2 separate regions of the Homo sapiens genome follow, and region 2 is linked to region 1. Evidence: promoter capture Hi-C in 16 types of primary human blood cells and fetal thymus (Javierre and others, 2016). All regions are on one chromosome and are shown on one strand. Each heading gives the region's core, a stretch centred on a gene start or on the middle of the fragment in contact. The rest is flanking DNA. Distances are from core to core; before and after follow the strand shown. Region 1 holds the start of SETBP1-DT (SETBP1 divergent transcript). Region 2 overlaps SETBP1 (SET binding protein 1).

Region 1 (7,231 bases), core at 3,212-5,711:
CCTGGTGTTTTCTTTCCTGCACTTTTCAGGTATATGGCAGGCCAAAGTATGTGCAACTTCATGAAGAGTTTGTAAAACACCTGGGTTGCCTTTAAAAACCACTCTAAAAGAAGCCCAAACTTATGGCCCAAAACATTTTGGGAAACTCACTAGGTTTCAACATATGCCACAGGATAGGAATGGAATTGGATTGTTTTGCTCCCTTCACAGGAACCCCAGGACCAGACAAAATGATGTGCAGCAAGACCTCTGTGAGGCTTCCTTTCTTCAACCCAGTGCTGCTAACCCTCCAGGGCAGCCTCCTGTGCTCCCACCACCAGCCTCTGGTAGGACTCTCACATACACTGAGTCCCTGAACAAACTCAATAACACCATCCCATTTTTAAAGCACTGCAACTCCTCCTTACAATACTAATGTGTTCATAATAATTTGCCCCATTCTTCTGGCAGGAGCAAAACTGAAGCAACTTGAAATGCCATCAGCAAAAAGTTATTTATTTCCCATTCCTGAGCATCAGAGAAAACAGGGTTTCATTGGCTGGATCTGCCTTCAATAGCTTTCTGGTTTCAATTTAAACTTCAAGTCTCCAAGGAAAAAACTGGCATTCTGGGAGGTCCAGGCCCAGCCAAGTTTCAGTGTCTCCACAGGAACCCAGAAAGGATGCCCCATCCAGCTAGCTATTTCTCATCTGCTTCCTTTTGCATACTATATAGAAGCTTTGGAGCAGAGATTGAAGTACAACTAAAAATAATGACCACATTGAGAGAACTCTCCTCTCCTAGAGGTACACTTTTGTGCCAGACAAGTATCGATTCATCCCCTAGAGGAATTCAAAGTTAACAGGAGAAATGGAATCCAGGGGAAAGTACCTACCTATTTATTTCTTCTTCAGCAAAATCCTGCCTCCTGCCTCTCCCCACTCACCATTTTCAACTAAATCCTAAAACACTCCCAAGCACTGTTTCCTTTTTCCCCAACCCTCATTTAGGTCAGGTGATTTACAAAGTAGCTCACTCTGAGCAAGGCAAGTCCATGACCAGAAGCCCTTATGGCAGCAGGGGCTGTTGGGTTAACTTAAAGATACCTCTAGGTTCCCCTGTGTGATGTCCAAAACTGGGCCTTCCAGCAGAGCCTTCCTATGTAACATTCTGATGCTAACATACAAAAGATCAAATTACAGCCCTTCACTTGCCTAGCCCTTTCATGAACATATAAGGCAGTTGATATTTTCTCCCAAGCTAGAAGTGGCCCCCTTCTTAACCGACACTACTGCCTCTCAGACACTCCACCTTATGTTCACTGCAAGCCATCCCCTCCCCCACCTCCAGTTTGTTTATTCCAGAGATACATCTATTTTCCCAGCTAAGAGAGACGAGTCCCTTTCCCTCCTCTGGCTCCCGGTGGTGCATTCGCTCACCACCTCCTCCCCCAGCTCAGCTCAGGTTACTATAGTGGCTAGCAACTCCCACAGCCCAGGTCTAACACCAACTCAACTTCCCAAGACCAATAGTTTGTTTTGGTTTTGGTTTTGTCCCCTTAACGGGGGAGGAGAAATCGTGTGCCAAGCAACACTCTGGGTACCTGGTCTCCATATCTTTGGGGGCTACATTCCCTGCCGTTTGCAAATACTCTGTTTAACCACACTTGATTTCTTCCTCCTCTTCCGACTTTCCCCCAAACACTCTGTCTTAATACCCTTTTCTGGGAACAGGCAATGAGACTAAGCACAGGGGAAAACACAGCACCTCACCTTCACTCTGACACCTGGGAATCCCTCGTCAGAGCAAAAGAGCTCACGCCTCCCTCAGGGAGTTTAAGGATGGTAGAAGCCAGAGAAATCAGAAAAAAAGGGAGGGAGTGACCTGGGATGGTAAACTAGCTACATCTTAAAGTGCTACAAACTTTCTCCTCCCTCACACGCCCCTGTCTGGTTGGCTCCGCCTTCCCATCCCAGCTGGGGTGTGCAAAGGAAACTCTCCCCGGAATGCCCAGGTCTGGTCCAGTGTTGAAGATGTGGCCTGCACACAACACCGCCCTTCCTCTCCAAATACCTCTTCTCTACCCCATCCCCTTTCTCCCACGACACACACATGCTTTGCACGTGAAGATGAGTTTGGATGGGGCACAGGAGATATACCTATTTACTAAAGGAGGGTAAGAGATGGTGCCAAATCGGCAGATAGTTTTGGTGACAGTACAGAGACTTCAAGAAATTAGTTTTTAGTATAAATCTACAGAAAAAGAAGAAAAACAGGATGAAGAGTGAAGGAATGAAAAGAAAAAGAAGGAAAAAGATGTAAGAGAAAAACAATCAACGCCAGTGGACTCCAACTAAACTTTAAGGGGAAAGGTGTGGATAGTTGGCAGGAGGTGGGGGGAGTGTAGGGGCTGGAAGGGAAAGGTATCTGCTGTAGAATTCCAGAATAAACTGCCCTTTTGGAGGAGAGTTTCTGCAGGGATAAAGAGACACACAAATTGCCCTTTTAGCGTTAGATGTCAACCGTGAGATTATCAGGACAGTTTATTTGAAACGGAAACGAATCGGAAATCCTTCCCACAACAGTCCTTTTAGACAGATACACACCCTGAGAATCCAACACAGACACACATAAAGAATAAATGCAGCATTAGGGGGCAATAAGAACTCCCCTTCCACACTCTCAATACCTCTAGCCTCATCTATTTCCAATTGCACAACTTTCAATCTCCAATGAAAATATTTCCAGTTGGATCCGATTTCAGACTTGTAGTAAGCGGTCTGGATGGGGGGGCGGGGGGAATAGGTGCTGTACTGTGCAGGGGAGGGGGGCTGGAAGACAGTATTTCGGCAGTTAACTTATTTTTTTAGAACCAGCATGCTCTACCGATCAGAAATTGCTATTACCCAACAATGCTTCCATCACAAACAGACACTGAAAACAGCATCCCCGTTATCACCATCTTGCCAAAGATCTGCCCGGTCCAGTTTACCTGACTTTGTCCCTGCGGAACTTCTCAGACAGTATTTCGGTCAAAGAGATAATGGTTTGGAAGACAAAAACAATAAATCGATACCGAAGGGTTCCCTTTCCGGAGTGATTTCCCACTGGAAACCACCGAACGGGGAAGCCTGCCGTTCATTCCCAAGCCCACGGCTCCTCTAGAAACGCACACAATGCGTGCTTTCAAAAAGGCATTCGTCTGCTTTTAAGGGAATTCCTATCTTTTCAGAGTCCCAAAACCAGAGAGCACAAGAAAGAGACTCAAATCCATTGATTAAGATTTTTAAGAAAAAGACTAACACACAGGCACAACACAAGCACACACCAACCTTCGCCGGCTGGACCACTTCTTGCCTGTTCTTCTTTCTATTAACGACACGTTAGATTCTGATACATTCCCCCCCCAAAAAAATCCAACTAGGTTACAATGTAGCTCTCTAGCTCCACTTAACCTGCAAGTTACAAAGAGAGAAAAAAAAAATCCTGCCTTCCCACCCCTTTCCTTACCCCCTCCCCCTCCCGAGTCCACTCCACCAACGCCAAACCCGCCAGCCCCGCCAGCCGGCTGCAGGACCGAGGGAGGGTGCAAAAGGCGGGGGGCGGAGGGGGGGTAGATCAGATTAGGCGAAACTCAATAAGCTCCCAGCCCTCCAGCCCAAAGCTTCCACCATCGCCGCCACCAACGAGCCACTCCAATTGAGCCAGCATCGCCGCCCACCCGCCGGCCCGCCGGAATCGCGCCCATCTCCTGCAACCTCGCCCGGACCGGCATCCCGCCCCCTCGGCCCGGTCTCCCCCTTCCCGCCGGGTGCAAAGTCAAAGACCCAGCAAGGCGACGTGAACTTTTGCATGCAGGGCACACACGTCGCCCCCGGTTCCGGGAGTGCGGGGGCCCGCGGCGCGGAGGGAGGCTGGGCGCCCGGGCTCCCGGGCCAAGGTCGCCGCGCGTGCTCACCCATGTCCCGGCGGCTCCGGCTCCGCTGGCCCCGGCGCTCGCTCAGATCCCGGCTCCCGTCGCTCGCCCGAGCCCCCAAAGGTGCTGCTGCGGCAACTCCATGGCGATGAGCATCTGTCAAACGGCGAGCCGCGAGCTGGCCGCCCTAGCTCGGGGGGCGCCGGGGCCCCCGGGCGCGCGGAGGCGGCGGCGAGCGGCGGGCGCCCCGGCCGGCCCCGCGCTTCCCGCCCGACTCTGCCGCCTCCGCCGCGCCACCGATTTATGGAGAGAGATATCAAGGGGGAAAATGGCGTCTCCGGAGCCCGAGGAGTCCTGGAGTAATCACATTCACACACACACGCCCGCACGCACACACACTCGCACACACTGGCACACAGGCGCGCGGCGAGCCCTGCTAATTTTAGCAGGAGCCAAAAAAAATTTTATATATATATATATATATATATATATATATATATCCCCGTCTCTCCGATCAATGCTTTTTCTTTTTTTGCTTTTTTTTTTTTTTTTTTTTTTTTTTTTGCTTTTCTTCAAAGGATGGGTTGGAGCGTTAAAAAATGTTGGTGGGTTTGGGCTCGCAGGAGGCGGCGCGCGGAGGGCGAGGGCGCTTTTGCTGAGCTGTGCAGTTCGGTCCGCTGAGCCCGGCGGCCCTGCCCGCCCGCTCGTCCGCCCGCGGTCGCTAGTGTTGCCGCCGCCGCCGCCGCCGCCGCCGCTGCTGCTCCATGGCCGCGCCCGCCCCGCGCCCCCGCCGCGTCCCGTCGCCGCCCGCCCGCGTCCCCGGTGAGCGCTGGAGTGGGGTCGGGCCCGTGTGCCTGCCTCCCGCGCCCTCTCCGAATCCCGGACTCCTAGTGAAAGGAAGGGGGAGGGCGCGGGCGCGGAAGGGAGGTGGATCGGAGCGGCAGCGCGGCCCAGCCGAACGGGTACCGACCGTCACCCCGCGATCTTCCTCGCAGGGGGCGCCGGCGCCCAAGCTGCTCGCCCGGAGGGCCCAGAGCCGCTTCCCAGACCAGAGCCGGGGGAGGCGCAGCCAGTAGCGAGCCCTGAGCGACCTCTCTCCCCACTCGCCCCCCTGCCCCAGTGAATTTCTGTCAGTTGAAGGGAGCGGGGCTCTTGCCCGGGGAAAAGGAAAACAGTTCGTGGCCTGGGATCTGGGACCCCTTGCCGCCCCCAGCGCCCCTCCCGCTCCCCGGCGCCCTTGCGGCCCAGTGGCTCCTGCGCGCCGGAGTCCGCCGCGAAGACTGAGCGGCCGCGGGGATCGCCGCGGGCTCCGCGCGTATTCCTGGGCTCAACACTGCCACTATCTGACACAACAGGAGCAGTGTCGGGGGGGTACTGCGCGCCCAGACGTGAGCTGTGATAGGCTCTCGAAACTGGGCGCATTTTTTTTTTAACCTGGTAATTATATTTCACTTTCAGGGTTTTTTTAAATTATTATTATTATTTTATTGTTGTTGTTAAGCGACTTGTATGCATTCAGATCTCATGTGCATTTTCTCGTTATTCAAGAGAATTGGACACTTGATGAAGGGAAGGACACGGAGAGATGACAAACGCAGACTGGCATGCAGTTGTTTTCAGGGTGGGAAGAACAAAGTGGAATGTCTTCAGTTCTTACAAAATATGGTGGCATTTGTAATCTCTGAGTTTTTGTATTTGGCCTACAAAGGGGGTCTTTTCAGGGAAACACGAATGGAACCCTTCAGAGACATGTCTACATTGTAAAACAATATAGGATAGATACGGATTCGGGAAGGTCTGCAAATGGTTCCGCTCAAAGAACTTGGGGTAAAGTTGACCGAGGACTCGGATTCTGAGAGGACTCCTATCACGTTCTTCATGAGAGTTTTAGGCTATTTGGACTGAGGAATGATTTGGAGGTACGTCGGGGGCATTCCCTCACTGAGGCCATCAGTGGCTGCCTCCCTGCATTGGCTGCTGGTTTGAGTTCCTTCACAGAACTTCTTCGTCAAGTTTTTCATAGGAACGCTGCAGTGAAGTGGAGTGAAAGAGACTGGGGATTGAAGGGTGAACCCCTTCCAGCCCCAATCCCATCCCGATTCCTGTCTGGATGCAGATTCAGTCTGACTCAGAACGGATAGTTCACCCTTTTACTGATCCAAGTGCTCTGTCCTCTTTTTTTCAGAGGAATGTTCTGACTGGCTACAAACTTTTCTTCTGTCACTGCAGGACCTCCCGTGGAGCAATTTTCGATAGGTCTTCTACTATGCTTTTTTACCGCGTCATTGTTATTGCTGAGAAAATAATGCTTAGTTAGGAAAAAAAATAGCAGAGCATATGAGCTGATGATAGAAGTAGAGATCAAGGCACAGAATACAATATCAAAACAACTATTCTCTGTAATCAAATGACCTTTCTCATTTGCTTGTACACCCAGATTTCTGAAATCCTACACCAAAGTCCACAGAGAACTAAGATAGCATGTGGCCTATTCCCCGCGCTTTTCCAGTGGAGAAAGTAGCCCCAGAAATCAGAAGGGTTTGTCCACAAGCATATGGCTGTCTGATGTCATCCAAACCAGAACTAAAGCCTATTGCCCTAGTCGTTTCCCTTCTATAACCTAGGCGTATTTACAGAGTCTTCCTTCCTGTGGTGTTGTGTGGATTAGAAAAGTAGCTAAGAAAAGCACATACCTTATTAAAATTCACTGCAATAGATGATAAGTCTGTAGAATTATAGTGCAGTAGAAGTTTACCTGTGAGATCATCTATTAGAATCCCATCTTTTTAAAACTGAGGAAACGATGCACTACCCCAAGCCACTAAGTTAATTCAAAGCCAGGAATAGATGCTATGTTCCTTGACTTCTTATCCAACGTTCCTTCCTTGTATGTAGCCCATCTCTGAATCATGAGAGGGGAGAGGAGAGAAAGGAAAGGAGGGATATTCTCACTCTCTTACATATATATGAAAAAATATATATGCCTCTGTGTGTGTGTGTGTGTGTGTGTGTGTACACACACCCATAATAATGTTTCAGTGAACAACAGACCACATATATTACTGTGATCCCATATAATATAATACTGTATTTTTGCTGTACATTTTCTGTGTTTAGATACACAAATACTTACCATTGTGTTACATTTGCCCACAGTATTTAGTACAGTAATATTCTGTACAGGTTTGCAGCCTAGAAGCAATAGGCTACCCCATATAGCCTGAGTGTGCAGTAGCCTATATCATCTAGATTTGTGTAAGTGCACTCCATGATGTTTGCACAAAGTCGCCTACTGATGTATTTCTCAGAACACCTCCCCATAAGCTAATTGACGCA
Region 2 (7,231 bases), core at 2,811-5,310, 280 kb before region 1:
TCCACTTACATACCTTTGTTTGCATGGCTCCTGTTCTAGGTCATGCTTCCTACCCCATCTCTCATGACCACCCTTACCATCTCCACTCTCCCAAAGTGTCTTGTATCATTCAAGACCCATCTTACATGGTGACTGCTATGAAGAGTATTTCCAGGTCCCACCTCTCCTCCCCCACTGAGAACACAGCAGTGGCTCACAAGTCACTTGGACAGCCCTTGCTCTTTCTCTGTGGCTTTCTGATGGCTCTTGCAGTTGGCTTTGTAACATGAGGAGCTGCTTGCTGGTTTCTTCCCCTAAATTATAGAGGTCCTCCTGGATTGTAGTCTCTTTGAAGGCAAAAACATTGAGTTACTCATCTTTGATTTCTTTCTGGGATTGCAACAAGCCTTATACATACTAGGCATTAAATAAATCATTAAAAAATGTTGTCTTGTCCTTATCATTTTCCCTTGAATTCAGACAACTTGGATTAAGTGCTATACTGGCTCAAGCCTAGGCCACAATTTTAAAAGTATTCATCACTTGTTCTTTTTATAGAGTAAGGAGATGGTTTTCTGGAGTTTCCTTCCAAAGGTGCCTTGCTTATCTCTGCCCAGTGACAGCCTTCCAAAGGCATGCTTCCTGATTTCTCCAGCCAAGAAAGGATCCATATTATAGCAAAGCCAAGTCTGTCAAAATTGTAACTTCTCTGCACCCACACCTGAATCTGCATAATTTCCCAATCCCACAGAGGTAAAAATAAAAACTTTCACCAGGACACGAGAACATTTGCCAACTGTGGGAAGATAAATGGCTCGGGGACTTCAAACTCCAAAGGCAGAATTGCTCCATTTCTGATTTCAATGTAGCAAAGGATATGCTGTGAGTCTCAGCTATTTTTTTTTGTTACGTTGCTACAAAGTTATGGGTTATATCATTTAATTTGATTAATTCTTGGTTTCCAAAAGGAAACCTTAGGAGGAAACTTGGGAGGCTCAATAAAATAAGTATGTGCAATTGTTAAGACAGGAAAGGAAAAAAAAATGACTTCCATCAGAGCCCACAAAGATCATTTCCAGTCCCAGACATGGGTCCCCAGAGATAGCCTGGAAACCAAATGATTGTCAAAGAGATGCTTACCTTTTACAACAGCTCACAGCAAAGGAAAACATATAGCTTAACATCTCTCCCATGACTCACCTTTCTGTTTTTTTCTTGTATTCACTCTCTCTCTCCCTTTCCCTGCCCTTCTCCTTGATGTGAAGCTTCCCAGTCTGAGCTCTTCACCCAATTAAATATGTATCATTAGATGAGTCACTTGACCTTCTTAAGCCTCAGTGTGCTCATCAGCAAAATGAGATGTTTGTACTACATTATTAAGATTTATTTAATGCTGAGTCTAAATACAAATCCAAGTGTGCCCTGTCTGTTCCCATAAAAATGTTCATATTTGTGTTCTAACCTATTTGTGTCTCAGATAGTGACTATGTTTTCAGCCAGTGGGACTCAAGCACTAGGAGTTCTACCTTTCGCAAAGGAGAAATCCAATGGCTAAGTGAAATGGCTGGAGCTAAAGATGAATGGGATGAGTCTCATAGATTAATATACAACCAGTGGTACCTGTTTTCAAACTTCATTGAACAACTAACTATTTGGTCAACATGGTCAATAACTTGGATATTTACTTTGTAACTACTGCCTGTACATGTGTGCAGGGGAGTGGTGTAGATATTGAAATTCCATTGTATAAATTTGAGTCTTTTAGAATCTTCAACTATTAGGTCTGGTCAGAACCTTTATGGTCATAGTCCCATTTTGGAAAACTGAAAGTCAAAAAACAGAAGAGGTCTTTCAGCTGGTTAGTGTGAGAGATAAGATTTGGACAGGTCTTCCTAACCCTACTTGAACTCCACAACAGCCATTAGCTAATTAATCTTTCATTTCCTCCCACAAGAGGACTCAGAATTGGACTTGGAATAAGGTTAAAAAGATTATATTTCATCAGCTTCCCAGGTTTTACTCTCTTTATTCCTGGTCTTAATTTTCTCCTCCCATTAGTCCTCTTCTTCCTTTTATTCCATTTTAAGGAAATGATCCTGAAACATTTCCTTTGTATAGTTTTCATGACATTTCATCCACGTGGCTAATTCCCTCATCTGGGTGACTGCTTGGAGGAGGTTTTTGTATTATTTTTGGCTTGGGCATTCATATCCTGCCAGTGAGTGACAGCAGAGACTGCCTCCTCAAATTTCCACAGTGCTGATAAGAGGAGTTGGCAAAGGGCAAGAAAGAAGCTACAAGGAGAGGTGGAGGGGGCCAGGTGCCAGGGAATCCAGCTACCTACATGGCAGAATTTGGATATCTGAAATGTGCTCTCAGAATCAGTTCTCAGAATCCACTCATCATGAGGACAGTACTCAACATTCGGGGACTTGGGATGGCTACCTTCTTAACAATGGCACTAAACTAAGAGGTAACACATGTAGATTCACTCTTCTCATTTTTTTTTTTTAATTATCTGATAGGAGCTTGAACAGCAGTTGTCATGAGGTCTCAGTATCTGGCATAAGTTTAGGTCAAAGTATGCAAAGATTGTTTCCAAGTGGTCTGAATAGAAAATGTCACTCATCACTCTTCCACCACCTTGTGAAAACTTGGCTTTGAGGGCACATGGCATCATTCTGACTATGCATTGTCACCCCTGGAGTATGCATTTGCTCTTCTGGCCCTCTGCTAAATGTTAGTGTGCAAGAGAAGGCAATGCCTGCCGACAGACAGGCCCAAATAGGAGCTGATAAGGCTTATACCAATTCTGAGATTGCACCTTCTCACTATTTATCCATTTTCTGGTCCCAGGCAAGCATTTTTATAAACGGACATTTAGCAGATGGTATGCATTTAGAAAACAGGCCAAAAGAGCTACTGCATTCTGAAACCAAAAAAAGGAGGCGTAAAATACAGAAAAATGGTCAGAAGTCTGTACTGCATCCTAGCCCTAGGTATGTTAGAAGTGGGCTAACAAGACAATGCAACCATCTGCTGGGCAGGGAGAGAAAGAATGAAAGATTTTCCAAGCAAGAAAAAGGAAATGGAGTGTGCAACTGCTGCTATTGCTAAATAGGGTCTCTAATTCCTCTCTCCATAATGGTAATGACTTACGTTTAGATGGTATCTTTCATCAGCTCTGATCTCAGGGAGCACTCAAAGCCTTCTCTTGACTCTGCTTCTAATTCTCATCCTCAACAGGCTAAAAAGGATGACATCTATATTTATACTGTATCTATTTTAGAGAAGAATAGCTCATGTGAAATAGGACATTTGGATGCTAAGGAAATGAATCAAGTGTGATGAAGGAAAAGGTGGAGGGAGAGAAGTTGTAGAAAGTGCAGGTGCTTATTTCCAATCATGACCCTCAGAACCATCCAGCTGAATAGACACCTCCACTCAGATAAAGTCACTGAAAGCTCTTAATGCATCTAGTAAGCTCAGCTTCATCTCATCTGCCTCCTGTCTTTTCATGGAACTTGGCACTCTTCAGAGTCTATCACATTAAGGTGAATGCTCTTCAGGGAGTCTTGACAAACTCTGACACTGGATTCTATGTGATGCTAAAGATATTTTTCTCTCATGCTTTGGGGGCACAGCCATGAAGGAGACATTCGAGATATAAGCAATGAGAGGCTAAGGCTTGGAAGGGAGGGGAATAAGGGGGAATCTGGTCTGTCTTAGTAAGAAACTTAACAAGATATGCAGGAACATCAGGCATAGCTCATATAGATGTAGCAGCCACCAACAATTATGATTCATTAAAGTTCTGGGAAAAAATAACCTCATAGAGGACAGAGATAGAAACAAAGCAGTGGCAAAAATAACTCAGAGTGCTGGATTTCAGTAAGGACAGAGGTGGAAGCTCTGTCCATGGTGTCTCCAGGCTGATATTCAGAAAAGGTAAGGCCACAAGGATTCCTTCTACATTGGTCAGGAATTGAATAAACGAGTGTCTTCTTTCCTTAACTATTCTCTTTTGTAATCATCACACAATCACTGTGCAGATGCCTTAGGGAAGGGTATGTGATCTGAGGATGAATGGGATTCTGAAAGAAAGGGCAGAGGTGACATAGAGGAGCACTGGACTGGGCACCAAGAGCTGTGTTCTAAACACAGCTTTCACTAGCTTGGTGGCAGGCAGGCAGTCAAGGTTCAGTGCAGCAGGCAAAGTTCTGGGCTTAGAATCAAAACCAGTGGTTTTTTGAACCTGGACAGTTCTCTTGATCTCTTTGAGCCTCAGTATCCTGATCTGTAATATAGGAATAAAAGTACCTGTCTAATAACATTGCACAAAGGGTGTTACACAAAAATTTATGTGAAATGGCTTTAAGAATGGAAGCACACTATACACAAGAGGTCTGGCCCAACCCCATGAGTTACAGATGGGCAGACAGTACCCCAAAGAAGTGGAATCCCATGCCTAAGGGCACACGGAGAATTAGTAACAGAGTTGGGCCTTGTATCCAGTTCTTCGGGTTGAATCCAGCTTTCTTTCATGACATTGTCATGACACCTATTTCTTCCCATCTCAAGTGGCTGGCTGAAGATGAGATGAGATGGGACAGGGATGAGGAGGAGTTTTAATAAAGTGATGAATGCGATATAAATGCAAGCACATGAAAAGCAATATAACTAGAGTGGGGGCACACAGTGACTGGACGTGAACCCCAGCTGGGAAATTTTATGAAGTCAACCAGCACTCAGCAACACAGCCTGGCCACAGACAAATCCTCGTAAAATCGTTGAGAAACCTAACATGCAACAACGTCTGGTTTTAGCTTCTTGAGGTCTTGCTCCTTGGGTCTGTTAAGTTAGGATTTTTGCGTGTAGGTTCTTAACAATTACCCCTCACCATTATTTTCTAGCTAAATAAGGCTCATAAAATTACAAAAATAAGAACATCTTCTGTCCACAGCTAGTGTAAGTCCCATGAATCAGTTTCATCATGCTGAAAGAGATCAGTTTCTCACATGTCATGCAAGGTCAAGGTAGTACCTCCTGCCCAGGTGGGCTTAGCCTGCACTCTGCATAAAACCAAGCACCTTCAACAAAGTCTGATGATGAGAAATGATGAAGCCCAGATGAGCACATCCACTTTGGGCAGACACAAAGTGTAGGTCATTTATTACCTTTAGTAAATGCAGGAGATGTGACTGCTAATTGGTTTCTTCATTAACCAAGGAGAACATCTACCACTACAACTCACAGGCTAGTGGCAATCTGGGGCGATCTTTAAGTGGTTTCTACCTCATAATCATATTTCTTCCTGAAATCTGCTGGCCTAGAAAATGTCTCTAATTCTTCATGAATAGACTATTCTTGCCTTCAGGAAATATGGGCTCCCTGGGAAGGGAGAGGACAGGTGAGTGGTACACATCATAAACAGAAGTGAAATGCTACACCAAACCTTAAACATGGATGATTGGTTTTTAAAGCCAGGCTTTGGCTGGAGGGTTTTATACTATTTGGGAACAGGGGGAACACAAGAACTGTTTTTTTTTTTTTTTTTTTTTTTTTAGCTTCTGCAACTCCTAGGTAAGAAGTTTCTACTATTTTCCTAATAACTAACTTCTCTGGTCTTTATAGGGGTCTTATCATATATGATGTAAGGCCAGGGTCAAAGGGATACTTTTGCAGAAATGTGAGGCCCTAACAGCAGGGAAGGATTTTGTGTGGTTGGGGAGGTTGGCAAGGGAATTCTGCCAGCAACTGACAAGGAATAGGATCCTTCTAGTAGCAACCAGCATTTCAGTTTAAATTAGTGAGCAAAATCCCTTTCTAGTGGGCATGCAAAGAGACACAGTTATAAGGTCTGCTGGAAGCAGGAGGCACATATCACCTTCCAGCCTGCCTCCTTCCACTTAGTGCACGAAAATGACAAGTATCTGAATGTAGTCAAGTTTTCATTTTAGGGACCTGCCCAGGACAGCTTATCAAATGCCCATGGAAAAAAAATGGAAACAATATGGCCCAAGGCTGTGGCTACCTGATGAGTTAGACTTCAGGATTCACTGGTCATCAGCTTCTAATGGCTCTGCAGTAGACTTCTCACATTAGATGTGTGACTTGTGGAGCTGGCATGCCAGATAAATTAGCTAGTCATTTCCTCCCAGGCTTGGCATTCTTGGATCTTATTAGTATTCCTAATGAGTTTTAGAGGCTGTATCCAAACAGCAAACTGTACCATTAGATCAGATGAGGACCTAAGAACAGCATCTTTAATAAAAAGCATAACCATAGTGGGCACGACTGCAGCCTAGGCAGCTATTAGGGTTATGGCTTCACAGTTTCTCAAACAATGGCTCCAGGAGAGAAGGAAGATAGTAAATACCAAGTAAACAATGTACAAAATGTGCAGCAAACTCAAATGTGCAAGGAGACCCATTTTAATTTGATTCCCACCTCTTTGCAAACTAGTGAACACAATGTGCCACAGATGTGTCTGAGGTGCAAAGCCCAGCAATGAAATAACTTGATAATCCATTTCTGAAGAAAAACAGCCTTACCTGGAGACATGGAGGAGTCATAAGAACTTCTCTCCTTGCGGTTCATCTTGAAGGCTTGGATGTCCTTTTCCCTGTACGTTCCAAAGCCTTCATAGCTCCTCCTTTTACTCCCACTCACGTCACTGTCCCACTTGTCATTCGAAGGGTTCATTTCACTGAACACGTCCAGGTTCTCTGATCTCGTGCTGCCACCATCCCCGCCACTGCCAGAGTATCTTTTCGTGCATGAGTCCACAGGCTCACTGCTCAAGTCTCCTTTTTCCTTGGCCTGTGTCCAATGCTGGGCGTCGGAAAGTGACAGTGTAGACAGGGTGTCCACCTCAAAGTTGTTCTTAGAAGCTTTGTGGCCGGCTTCGCTGTGCTGGTGCTTCTGTTTCTCCTTATGCTTGTTCTTCTCACTCACCAGCGGGAGCTCTTTGTCTGCGCTACTCAGCCGCTCGCTCAGGATGTGGCTGGAGAAGCCTGTGGCTTTGCCTGCAAAAAGACCACTCAGGTTGTCATGGGTCCCTAGGATCCGGTCTTCCTTGTGCTTATGCTTGTGTTTGTGTTTCCTCTTATGGAGCCGACCACTGGACAGACTGGCACTGCCTACCTTGGGAGGGTTCAGAGAAGGCTGCATGTCACCAAGGCCCATGCTAACAGGTCCCTGCAGGTGTACTCCATGCTTGGCTTTATGCTTAGCTGCACCGGACATCTTT

What was found. Contacts are between HindIII fragments. The CHiCAGO score rates a contact against its expected background, and 5 or more counts as called.
Region 2: a contact is called between a fragment that was not itself captured here and the fragment with the promoter of SETBP1-DT in region 1, in 1 of 17 cell types (total B cells). The highest score is 5.9, in total B cells.

What each region holds. Positions count from the first base shown.
Region 1 is chr18:44,677,102-44,684,332 of GRCh38, reverse strand. SETBP1-DT (SETBP1 divergent transcript) reads left to right here and starts at 4,461. Exons shown (of 2, transcript NR_187430.2): 1 at 4,461-4,717; 2 at 5,444-7,231. SETBP1 (SET binding protein 1) reads right to left here and starts at 3,445. Exons shown (of 6, transcript NM_015559.3): 1 at 3,312-3,445. RefSeq lists enhancers at 1,310-1,399, 1,450-1,519, 1,630-1,699 and silencers at 3,571-3,620, 3,761-4,010, 4,681-5,320. The HindIII fragment of the contact is 7,071 bases long and covers 3,646-7,231 here.
Region 2 is chr18:44,952,643-44,959,873 of GRCh38, reverse strand. SETBP1 (SET binding protein 1) reads right to left here. Exons shown (of 6, transcript NM_015559.3): 4 at 6,534-7,231. Among named protein-coding and RNA genes, the nearest start is that of MIR4319, 14 kb to the left of the region's middle. The HindIII fragment of the contact is 5,628 bases long and covers 1,247-6,874 here.